Regions from separate parts of the Homo sapiens genome. Here regions 1 and 2 are each linked to region 3. The links are contacts of gene promoters, found by promoter capture Hi-C in blood cells and fetal thymus (Javierre and others, 2016). All regions are on one chromosome and are shown on one strand. Each heading gives the region's core, a stretch centred on a gene start or on the middle of the fragment in contact. The rest is flanking DNA. Distances are from core to core; before and after follow the strand shown. Region 1 holds the start of CXXC4 (CXXC finger protein 4). Region 2 overlaps PAPSS1 (3'-phosphoadenosine 5'-phosphosulfate synthase 1). Region 3 holds the start of INTS12 (integrator complex subunit 12).

Region 1 (3,875 bases), core at 1,027-3,526, 1.2 Mb after region 3:
AATGGAAATAATAGCCACTTCACAGGATTATTGCAAGGACAAAATAGAATATCTGCAAATTACTTAGTGCAGGATCTGACACTAATGGGTCATTAATAGGGGCTATTATTATTAATTATTAAGACCAAGAATTCTGTAGTTTTCCTTCATTAGCTGGAAAGTAAAATTCATTGGAATTTAGAACATATTTTCTCTCACGTGTTTAAGATTTCATTTTGAAAGTAAGCTTGAAGAGTCCCAAAAAGGAAAGCATGAGAAAAGGAATTTCCAAAAAGGAAAATTTCCAGAAAAGAAAATTTGGCAAAAGAAAGCATGATGTCTTTATTTGATTAAAAACATTGCTTATTTATAAACTTCAAAATTTCTAACATTGGACTGATATTTTAAATATTGTGAAAAGATGTTTAAGAATCTATCATTTTTCTAGCATGTTTTCACTCATTAAAAAGTGACCACATTTTCCTGATAAATTTCCTATGAAGCTGAGCTAAAACAAAATAATCAAATGGAAAATTTCCTTTTTTGCTTTTATAATGCATTAGCACAAGAATAAAAATATCTTATTAACTTGAATAATTATTAACCCTCCAGTTATTTTGTCTATAGATGTCAAATAACCGGTAATAATCAAACAGCTTATGCTTTAAAAAAATTACAAAACATGTATATTAATCAATGAGTCACAAAATACACCTGTTTCCTATTGCAATAGTAGCCCACTCTTGAAATAACACCTTCATTTAGGCATACACACACCACAGTTTCAAACTTGTTATCAACAATTTATCCTCCATAGTTGGTAATGTCTTGATATGGTCAAAGTCTATCTTTTGAAAATTCAAATACAAAATGGTTTAAAATGTCTTTTCAGCTTTTTTTTCTTATTAAAGAAACAAAACATTATATTTTCCTCACTTATCTGAACAATTAATATTGCATTACTCTAGAATAAACACTTAATTTTAATACAAAACTTGTACTCTGCTTGATAACACCAATTTAAATAATCTTAAGTTTTTTCTTTCCTACTCTATAACTTACCTTAGCCACTGTTTTGCTCTTAGAAAAAAAATTATTCAAAAGTATTCATAATTCTGTATCTTATAACTATTTCCACTAGAGTATACTTTAATAGTAGGATAGCATGTGTCCACAAATATTTTATTTGAGGCAGCAGTGAAGAGGTTAATTTACAGCTGCATTTATGAACGAGTTTTATTTATATTTGACGTGCCGTACAATATTTATGTTTCAATTCATAAACTATGTTTTCCCAAGTGGCAAGAAGTGAAATGTTAATTACATACTATTCTAAAATAGACTGAAAGACAAAAGTTTTTGTTTAAGTAAAGTTTGAAATTAAAAAATAGGGCAGTGAGTTAAAAATCTGATTTATTCTTTGGAACTACCAGATGGAATAGTAAAAGAGGATTTTGGGAGGAGAGAGAGAAGAGTAGAGAAGAGAGACAGAGATTGAGATGGATTTTGAAATTGGCCAAGCATCATATCACCGATTTTTTACATTCTGGCATAATAGTACTTCGAGGGTCTGAAGAACCACACCGGTCCGTTTTCCCTTACTTTAAAGATCTAAATGGTATTTTTTTTTAAAGTCTTCCTGGGTACACCAGGAAATTTATTTAAAACCATGCCATTGGGTACGAACTAAGAGCATTCTTCAAACAAACATGACCTTTTCTCTGTTTCTTGTATTGCTCTTCTCAACCCAGCCAGAAATCCCAGACAAGTTTATTTACACACACACCCGCACACGCACGCACACACACACCCCACACGCAGAGTGGCGGAAACGCCCTCTTTCCAACCCTTCCAAACAATTATCTCCGAGAGCAAAAGAAAATAATCAACAGCCCTGTGTGCTGGGCTGAGCCGGAGAGCCGGGCGCGAGGAGGGAGGGCGATCCGCAGGCGAGCAGGGAAAACGTGGCTCCTCTGCCGAGGAGAGGATTTGTGAAAAGGAGCGCTGGCCCGCGTGCGCCTCTTGTTCCCCGTGTAATTTGCAGCCAATCATCAGTAGGTGTCCACGTCCCTGCGTCCTCCTCACCTCGGCGCCAATCACCCCCACCCCCGCGCCCCCGCCCCCAGCCTCCACACCTCCTCCCTCGCCTTTCTCTGTGGCTCCCCTCCCCCAGCAACCGCACACTCGCACACACACAAACAGAGAGAGAAGGGGGGAGGGTGAGAGAGAGGGGAAGAGAGAGAGAGAGAGAGAGGGGAGAGAGAGAGGAGAGACTCCCCGGCTCCCTCCCTCCCTCGCACACAGCGACTGGAGACGGACGGAGAGCAACGCGCTGGGAGAGGAGAGACCACCGACAACAGACCCGCGCTCTCACACATACACTCACACTCGACTCTTTCCTCTCCCCCCACCTCCTCCTCCTTCCACCCCCACCACTAACACCATCTCCTCCTCCTTCTCTCTGCAACAAGAAAAAAAAGCCATTTACAGGTATTTTTTTTGATCCGCATATTTATTTACCCCCCCCCCCCCAACAGTTTGTTTACAAGTATTAAAGTTGTAATTGGGAGCTGCCAAGACACATCTGGATTTGTGTTTCTTTGTGTTAGGGGGTGATGTGCAACTAATTAAAGGCAGACTGGCAGCGTCTGCAAATTCTAAGGCTCCCCAAATAAAAAGAGACTGGTAAGTGATTGTTCTTTCTCTTTCTCTGGCTTTTTTTTCTCTTAAATGTTTGCTGTCCGTTGGGATTGTGAAAGTAGATTATTAATGCTGGACTCCAGCAAGAAAAAGCGTCGCTGTATTAATTTATTAATTAGTCTGCACCCGCCCCTCCTCCTGAATGTTAAATATGACCTTTGATCTCTATGTCTCTGGTAGACCAGACATACAGTATTAGGCATGTAAAGTCACATTGTTTAAAGGCAAAACAGGATCATGAAGTATGGATCTCTAATTTAGCTTTGGCATAGAACTATAGTTATTTGTGTGTGTTTTATTTTGTTTTTAAATAAAATCCAAACAATAGCTGTGGCTTAGATACCTTTTTCATGCTCCAGAGATGCATTGATTAAACAATAATGACCTGGATACTGGGCATAATCATTTTCTACAGTTTCTGGTGGTATTAAACCTTGAGGTAGGAAGAGGGATGGTGATGGCAATCAGAAAAGCAAGGAAAGCTTGTGTTTGGAAACACCACTCTAAGACTCTAAAAAAGGGACGTTAAATTATTTATTTATTTGGAACAAGGTCAAAAGACTAAAAGGTTGAAAATTTTCCCTCCACTCAATGTGATGATATCTAATGCATGGTTGACATAACTAGTTTTTACTGAGTAGCAGTTATTATGGTCTTGCAGTTACAATGTGATTCGCAGAAACTGAAGCTATATGCATATTCTTGCTGTGTCTTCCCTCACCCCTTCCAAGCATCAAGAATATTTAGCCAAGAGCATTTTGGGGGCACCTTTTGTATTGCCCTCAGACCTGAGAAGGCAGCAGTTTTCCCTAATGCGAAACCACAGAGGTGGTTCCTGAGTGATTAGGGACTTGCTGTGATTGAAAGATGCCTGCAAGCTTCTAATCCAGCCTGGGGTGAGGTTCCTTATCTTGATTTACTTTGCCTAATAGGGATTTGTTTACATAAACCCCTCTTTTTAGAGCACCTCATCAGTAGGTCTTGAAGTTTTTGCACTTGGAGTTTGGGCATAACTGGTTCATTAACCTAATTATAAGCATAATTACTATAATTGATAACCATTTTGAACTCTGAATATTTGAGACGGAGACTATTGGGCCCCCATGTAGAATTCCCTGAACTCTGCATTCTAGACCAATCTATGGGCTTCAAAAGATGTCACAAAAAGATATTCTGGCCAAAAAATCTGGAAACAA
Region 2 (3,716 bases), core at 1,021-3,520, 2.0 Mb before region 3:
TTCTTTCAGCTATCTGCTCATCCACTTACTCCCTTCGGACCCCAGCATGAGCTGGAACCTGACCCCGAGCAGGACACTCATAGTCCTTGACCTACTTTCTAGGAAATAATATATAGGCACAAGAAGACAAATAAATGTGTTAATGGTACATAAATAACAAAAGAATGATATGGGCAGTAAATGTTATAGGGACTTCCTAGGTACACATACTTACACTGAGCCAGATATACATATATATATATTTTTCTACAAAGCACCCAGACTATTAAGTAAGAAGCACTAAGCTTGGTTTCTCTCTCCTGTGTATGGAAACTAGGGCACAGAAGACTCAGTATAGAAATGTACTTTAAAAAAAAATTCCAACCCAGAAAGCCAAGAATAGAAATTTAGAGGTGGAAGGAAGTAACTCATTCTCAACCCTTAATGAGTCATTAATGTCATGTTTCCTCAGCAGAATTATAGAAAGGATTTGGCTGAAGTGGGTGCAGAAGGAAGGAAAGGGGAAGTAGAAGAAGATTACATGTATAAGTGGCTGTGGAGTCTAAAAATTCAGGCCTAAGTCTACCACTTTGCAATTCTGTAACCACCCAATGCGTTCATTTTGCCTGCTGCCCACAGGCAAATTTATCAAGACAGGGTAATTGCAATAGAGAAAGAGTTTAATTCATGCAGAGCCAGCTGAACAGGAGACTTTTATTATTGAACAAATCAGCCTTCCTCAAAATTTAGAGGCCAGAGTTTTTTAAGGATAGTTTGGTTGGCAAGGCAATGGGTGCAGCCAGTTCGTTGGGGATGTAATCATAGGGGTGTGGAAGATAGTCCTAGTGTGTTAAGTACACTTCTGGTTGGGAGCACACAGGTGGTTGGTGGGTCCAGGTGGAGCCATTGAGAGTCAGAAATGCAAAAACCTGAAAAGACATCTCAAAAGGCCAATCTTAGGTTCTACAATAGCGATGTCATCTGCAGGAGTAACTGGGGAAGTTGAAAATCTTGTGACTTCTGGAATAGTGGCTGGTAATCATTTATGTTTACACCTTGGGAGGATTCAGGCTCCTCTCATCTCCTAACCTGGTGGTCTTTTATTAGCTTTAAAAGATGGTTTACTTTTGGGGAAGTAGTATTATCATTTAAACTAAAAACTAAATTTCTCCCAAAGTTAGCTTGACCCAAACCCAGCAATACCTAAGGGCAGTTTGGAGGTTAAAGGCAAGATGGAGGTTGGTTAGATCAGATCTTTTTCACTGTTAACAATTTTCTCACTTGTAATTTTTGCAAAGGCTGTTTCAATTCCAGTAGTTTTATAAAAGTGCTCTTTGATTTACTTTGAAAAATTGGGAGTTAGGACAATGTGGCAATTTTTTTTAAGTTTATTTTTTAATATGAAAAATATTGTTAAAAACTTTAGCTGAATTAAATTTAAAAGAGTTTGAGCAAAGAACAATTCGTGAATCAGGCAGCCTCCTGAGCCAGAGTAGGCTCAGAGGCTCCAGTGCAGCTGCATGGTAGAAGATTTATGGACAGAAAAAGGAAAGTGGTGCACAGAAAATGGAAGTGAGGTCCAGAAACAACTGGATTGGTTATAGCTCAGCATTTGACTTATTTGAACATGGTTTGAACAGTTGGCCACATTTGATTGGCCAAAACTCAGTCATTGGCACAAGGGTGGATACAGTCTGTTTGTCTCCAGCTAGGTTAGTTTAGTACATATGGAGAAACCTTTAGGCTGAACTTAAAATATGTAAAAGAGGTAGCTTTAGGCTTAACTTGATTTAACAATATCAAACATACATAAACCAAAAAAAATCTCCTTATATCCAGAGTACTATGTTTGCTGCCAGAATCTTTTTAAATGTAGGAGGCAAGAAACTGAGGGAGCATTCTTTTTAGAGATTAAAACAGACGGTCTCTACTTACCCTGTCTGTATTTTTTCTCAGCCATATTCTCAGCAGTTGATAGCTTGACAGATAATTTTTATGCATTCTAGCTTGATTTGATAAGAAAAGCAGAAGATATTTTACAGAGCCCAAATCAATTAAAATTCATTAGATATATGTTTCTTCTTGTCTATAAAGAGTGAAGTAACTTGGAAAAATCCTCAAACAAAATGACCAAGCCAAACAGGTTCTACCAGTATAGGCAGCAAAATGTGTATAGCACCCTCTGCAATTCCCTTTTAGCAGAGACTTTAGCTCCCTTTTCCTCCTTAGCCAGTATCAATGGGAGCTAAAGCTAAAGAGGTGCCACTGCTTCTCAAGATATACAAATGTCTACTTCTGAAGCCCTCTTTTTTAAGTTCTTGGAAATGTAGAGCTGGTAAGTTGTATTTGCTTCATCAGTTTATTGAAAAGAAATGAATCTAGAGACTCATTACAATTTTTTGTAAGTGATTATTAAATATGTAAAAGTATTTTATTGGAAATAAAGTATTAATAATTATTGTGTAAATAATTATTGTTAATGAGATGAGTAGATGGGAAGGGGTGCAGCTTTTGTGGCATACCTATTAAAAAGAGTTGTCAAATTGTCCCTTTGGTCCCAGAGGATTTTTCAGGTAATGGTAATGATGATAATAAGATTCAGATGTGTGGGAGATGGCATTTCTGCTGTACAGGATTGTGAAGGGGAAGGTAGGAAAAGAGATCCTTAATCTCATGGAAGTTGAAGATTTGTATAGAAATTTAATTCCTTAAAAGTCAAATCTGTGTATTGGTGGAGGTCAGCAAAATGACAGAATGGGACTTCCCAGTGCTTGTCTTCACACAGAAACATAAATTGAACAACTATTCTTGCACAAAAATACTTTAATAAAAGCTAAGGAAACCAGGTGAGAGATGACCGCACCTGGATGTAGCAGAGAAATCAGAAAAAACACATTGAAGAGAGTAGAAAGAACAGTTTTACATGACCTATATTACTGCCCCCAGCCTGCAACCTCAGGCAGCACGTGGAGAAAGATACCCTTTGCTTAGGGGAGGAAGAGGGCAGTAAGCAAAAGATTTTGCCTCAGAACCCAACACCAGGCCCACCTCAGTGAAACTCAGTGCAAGGCAGGCCCCCGTAGCCCCAGACTCCAGGATGGTACCTATGGATTGAGCGTCCAAGCCTACCCTGGTACTAAGCAGGATTCTGCAGCCCAAGGTTCCAGCTCCTCCAACCTCCACCACCAGGCCAGACCCAATTGATGCAAGTTTTAGACTTGTCTTAGGGCCAGGCTGGCCCCAGTGGCCCTGGGCTTAGAGCTACCTTTAGTACCAGGCTGGCTGTCACAGGCAGGCACCTGTGGATACAGGCTTCAAGCTGTCCCAGCTTCAGGCCCTCTCCAGGTTTCAGACCAGCTGAGAGCCAGGTTGGCCCACACAGCCCTGGGCTTCAGGTCTGCCCCAGTACAAGGCCATTCCCTGTAGCCCCACCCTCCAGGCTGGCTGCTGCAACCCCATACTTAAGAGATCCAAGGTTTCAGGACCATCCCAATACATCTCAGCACTATACCAGCTCCCATTGACCCAGGCTGTAAGACCATTTCTGTGGACCCAGGTTCCAGGCCAGCACCCATATGCTGAGCATCTAGGTCAGCTCCCATGGCTTCAGGGCAGGTCCTGTGATTCTAGGTAGGCTTCAGACCAACCACTGTAGACCTAGGCTTCCACATCCGCTCCAGCACCAGCTGAGCTCTGCCTACCTGCTGACCCAGATACCAGGCCAGCCTCCCTGAGGA
Region 3 (3,687 bases), core at 295-2,794:
TTGATGGGCCCACTACTACAGAAGCTCAAGTTTGAGCTGTGTTTAAATTAAAGCAAAAACACGTAGAAGTGCAAAGTATATAAAATAAAAAGAAATGATGATTCTCAAATCTCATTGACCTTTTCAGTCTTATTTTTGAAGTGAGACCTCACAAAACGATACTTTCAGGTGTAATACAAACACAATTTTTAGTAATGAGTGTGCTTAAAGCAATCCTCTCAGTGGTGTATGCTCCCCATCAGGCAGTTAAAAAAAAAGAAAAAAAAACCCGCATAGCTTAATGTTTATTAAATATGACAGCGAATCACTTAGTTGTGTTATAACAGTTTATTATCATGGATTTAAATGACTATGTTTACATGTTTAAAATTATCACATCACTAGTTCTTGCTAGCTTTTGCATTTTCTCCTGTAAACATTGTTTTTACAGATAAGCTTAGGTAAAATAGAAATACACCACCTTCTTTATCAATAATGTAGCACACAATATATTACTAAAGCTGGCATTTTCTTGATATTCAAGAATTTATGACAAGGAATGGGATCCTGGCATTAAGAATAAAGGGGAAAAAAACAAGTCATCTCATCCCAAAACCAGGTAGAAAGTTGGGATGGGAAGTACGTGTATTAGCAAACGTTTTTGAAACCAAAGCAACTTTCATGCAAATTAAACTTTCTATAGAAGTTAAAAACCCAAGAGATACTGCTGTGATGACAAAACATAAGCAAATGGCCCCAAATGAAGCAAGTCCTTTGGAGTAAATGTTAAGTAGTATTCACATAGAACTGCTTTCTGCAATCAGGAAGGGCTGGAATGGAAAACTCAATGCCAAAGAGAGAAGAGAAGTTAGTGTGACCCAAGAGGTCTTGAAGTAACACTTAACAGCAAATATCAAACCACCCCAACCAACGCCTCCAACTGGAAGCTGCCCCATTTCTCCATCAGCAGAGGAAGACATGAGGGACTGGCTAGGGGGAAACTGGGAAACGCGTACTACCGAGAAGCCCAGAGCCCTCAACCCGCACCTTCAGCAGGAGTGGCCAAAAAGGAGTTTGAGGCGGCCCCAGGGCGGGAGAAAAATCAGGACGATGATACCACGCCCTTGTCCTTCCCACCCTTCCCCCGCATCCTCAGCCCTGCAGACCCCCGAAGAAAAGACCAGTTCTTAGGGGGTCGCGGAGGCTGAGAAGCCGGCGGCCCGAGCGCCCTCTTTACCTGGTCGCAGAGGCGCGGCCAGGCAGGGAGGGTGCGTGAGCGTGTCGGCGACCTGGGCCGCCTGCGCCTTCCCGCCCAGTCCGAGCTGGAATTCCAAGGCTGCCTCTGGGAGCTGCTGCCCGCAGACCACTCGCCTCCACAGACGCCAGGAGAAAAACGACAGCCACCTTATGTGGAAAATACTCGCGCCGGCCGTCATTCATAATCCGGCGGACCGGAAAAAGGGAAGTAACGTCACTTCCTACTGTCGCACTGCCAAACGTTTCCCCCGCCCCTACTGTGGGAACCTTTGTTTTCCTGCTTTCGGAGCCGGCCAGTGCGGGAACCGTTTCCGAAGGGACCACCGGGAACAGACGGATCGGCAGGGCGGGGCGGAACGGTGAGTTATGCTGAGCGACTCTGCTCCTGGCCTCCTGGAGGCTCGAGACCCCCGCGCCAGGAGCGAGGTGGGAGAGTAGCTACGTGGGGTATTAGTTTCCTCGCTCCTCAAGGGGAATCATAATTTACGGGCGGTTGCGTGCCCTAGACTGACTGCTCTCCCCTTTCAGTGAGGACTGTGCTTCCTCCGAGGGAGTTGCGGGCCGGGACATGCGGACCGAGCATATTTCTAGGTCTAGGGACAAGGGACTTGGAATCCTGCCTCGGACTTTGTCGGAGGGTTTTAGTGACTTCTCTACGTAGCTCCCTCATTGTCTCTCATCTTTTGGCTCCCCTGTCAAGGACCATCCCCCATTCTAGGACTTCGATGTGTGATGCTTTGATCAAAGGATTGACATTCCTTTTCTAAGTGTTTGCTGTCAGCTTTCAGCCACTTGATTGGTTTGGAATCGGAGCCTTTTCTCCTGCGATTCCAGGTGTCCCTAAGGTATCAGTGTTATCCAGAACCAAGAACTCAGTGGAGGAATGAAAAAGGCAGCATCTTTAAAATAATGTTTATTGGAAGGGGTTGCAAGAGCTTGCGAAGTCATGAAGAACAAAGTTTTTTAGAGCCATTATGAAATGGCAACGATAATACTGCACTCTATGTGAACAGTTTCTGTTTCCTTCATCTGGGGCACGTGCATATGATCAACTTTGGACTTCTTTTGAGATTGCCAGGTAGGGTGAAAAATGGATCTAGGAGAAAGCACATACTTATATTTATATATGAATGCCCAATTTAGACTGGAGAGATCACAGAAGCCTTATAAGGTGACATTTACGCAAAAAACCTAGTTCGTTCATTCGATAAATATTTTTGAGCCCTTATTAAGTTTCAAGCACTAGGGAAATAACAGTGAACAAAACAAGTTCCTGCTGTCATCAAGTTTACAGACCAGTGGGATTAATGAATTAAGCAAGACAGGCGAAAGATTGTGAGAATTTTACAGATAGGAACATTGTACTACAAGTCCCCAGTCGTGAAAGAGGTGATTGCTTTGCTTTTGCTTTTTTGATGTTTGGAGTTTTTTTTGTGGGGGCAGGGGTGAGTTACTTTTGTGATTTTTGCTGAAGGGACCTTGGAAATGGCTACAATTGTGTAGAAGGAGAGATAAGACCACTATACTTTGATCACTTAATTCCAGTAATTCTATAGCCATTATTTTGTTGTACTTTGCAAAGTGGCAAAGAGATAGGCAAAAAGATAAATATAGACTCTGCCCTTAAAGTACTCAGAGTTTTGTAGGGGACATAACACTTGTGCCAAAAAAAAAAAAAAATGCTTCAAGGGAGAAAGTTGCAATACCATGAAAAAGCACTATGAGATATCCTTGAATGGAGAGACTATTAATAGGGTTTGGAATGGAGAGGGGCACAGCAGCTGTCAGTCAAATCTTCATGAGAAGTATTTGAATAGGGTCTTGATAGGATGTAGATATATAAAAATAGGTAAAGAGCTTCCTGGACAAAAAAAATAAGAGTGGCAGGGTCAGCTAGCTATAAGGCAGATCTGGGGATGATGAATGATAATTTTTGTGCCAGTTACTGAATCTTCTTAAATGCTAGGCCAAGAAATTTGGTCTTTATTTCGAAGGTGGTAGAAAGCCCTAACTTCTCAGCAAGAATTTTTTTTTTTATTTTAATGAAAAAGAAGAAAACTGGGTTTCAGGAAAATTCATATGGCAACAATGTTGAAGTCAAGGAAAATAACGAGGTTATTGCCATAGTTCAAGTAAGCTAATAAAACCTGAATTTCAGTAGTAGCAGTGGAAGTGAAAAGTAGGACAAGTGTGAAAAATATTGCCGTCAGAATCCACAGGAATTCTGATTATTTGAATATAAGGAGTAGGGAAAGACTCAGTGAAGGAAAGACTTTGGTCTCAAACCTGACTAAAAGAAAGTTGTGTCATTTATTGAAAGTAAGAGCAGGACAAGGAACTTTTCGGGAAGATAATCAGAATCTCAATTTTAGTTGTAACTGAATTTGAGATGCCATTAAGGAATCACATAGACACATACACTAAGCATTTGGAAACATGGGATTCAAATTT

What was found. Contacts are between HindIII fragments. The CHiCAGO score rates a contact against its expected background, and 5 or more counts as called.
Region 1: the fragment with the promoter of CXXC4 here is called in contact with the fragment with the promoter of INTS12 in region 3 in 2 of 17 cell types (naive CD8 T cells and total CD8 T cells); the score reaches 8.4 in naive CD8 T cells.
Region 2: a fragment that was not itself captured here is called in contact with the fragment with the promoter of INTS12 in region 3 in 1 of 17 cell types (total B cells); the score reaches 6.9 in total B cells.

What each region holds. Positions count from the first base shown.
Region 1 is chr4:104,493,295-104,497,169 of GRCh38, reverse strand. CXXC4 (CXXC finger protein 4) reads left to right here and starts at 2,276. Exons shown (of 3, transcript NM_025212.4): 1 at 2,276-2,469. All of the region lies in intron 1 of CXXC4-AS1 (CXXC4 antisense RNA 1), which reads right to left. The HindIII fragment of the contact is 2,935 bases long and covers 229-3,163 here.
Region 2 is chr4:107,706,842-107,710,557 of GRCh38, reverse strand. All of the region lies in intron 1 of PAPSS1 (3'-phosphoadenosine 5'-phosphosulfate synthase 1), which reads left to right. Among named protein-coding and RNA genes, the nearest start is that of PAPSS1, 12 kb to the left of the region's middle. The HindIII fragment of the contact is 3,967 bases long and covers 287-3,716 here.
Region 3 is chr4:105,706,546-105,710,232 of GRCh38, reverse strand. INTS12 (integrator complex subunit 12) reads left to right here and starts at 1,544. Exons shown (of 8, transcript NM_020395.4): 1 at 1,544-1,595. GSTCD (glutathione S-transferase C-terminal domain containing) reads right to left here and starts at 1,449. Exons shown (of 12, transcript NM_001370181.1): 1 at 1,217-1,449. It overlaps LOC124900747 (a long non-coding RNA gene), which reads right to left. Exons shown (of 2, transcript XR_007058214.1): 2 at 2,137-2,332. RefSeq lists an enhancer at 1,220-1,469. The HindIII fragment of the contact is 4,662 bases long and covers 438-3,687 here.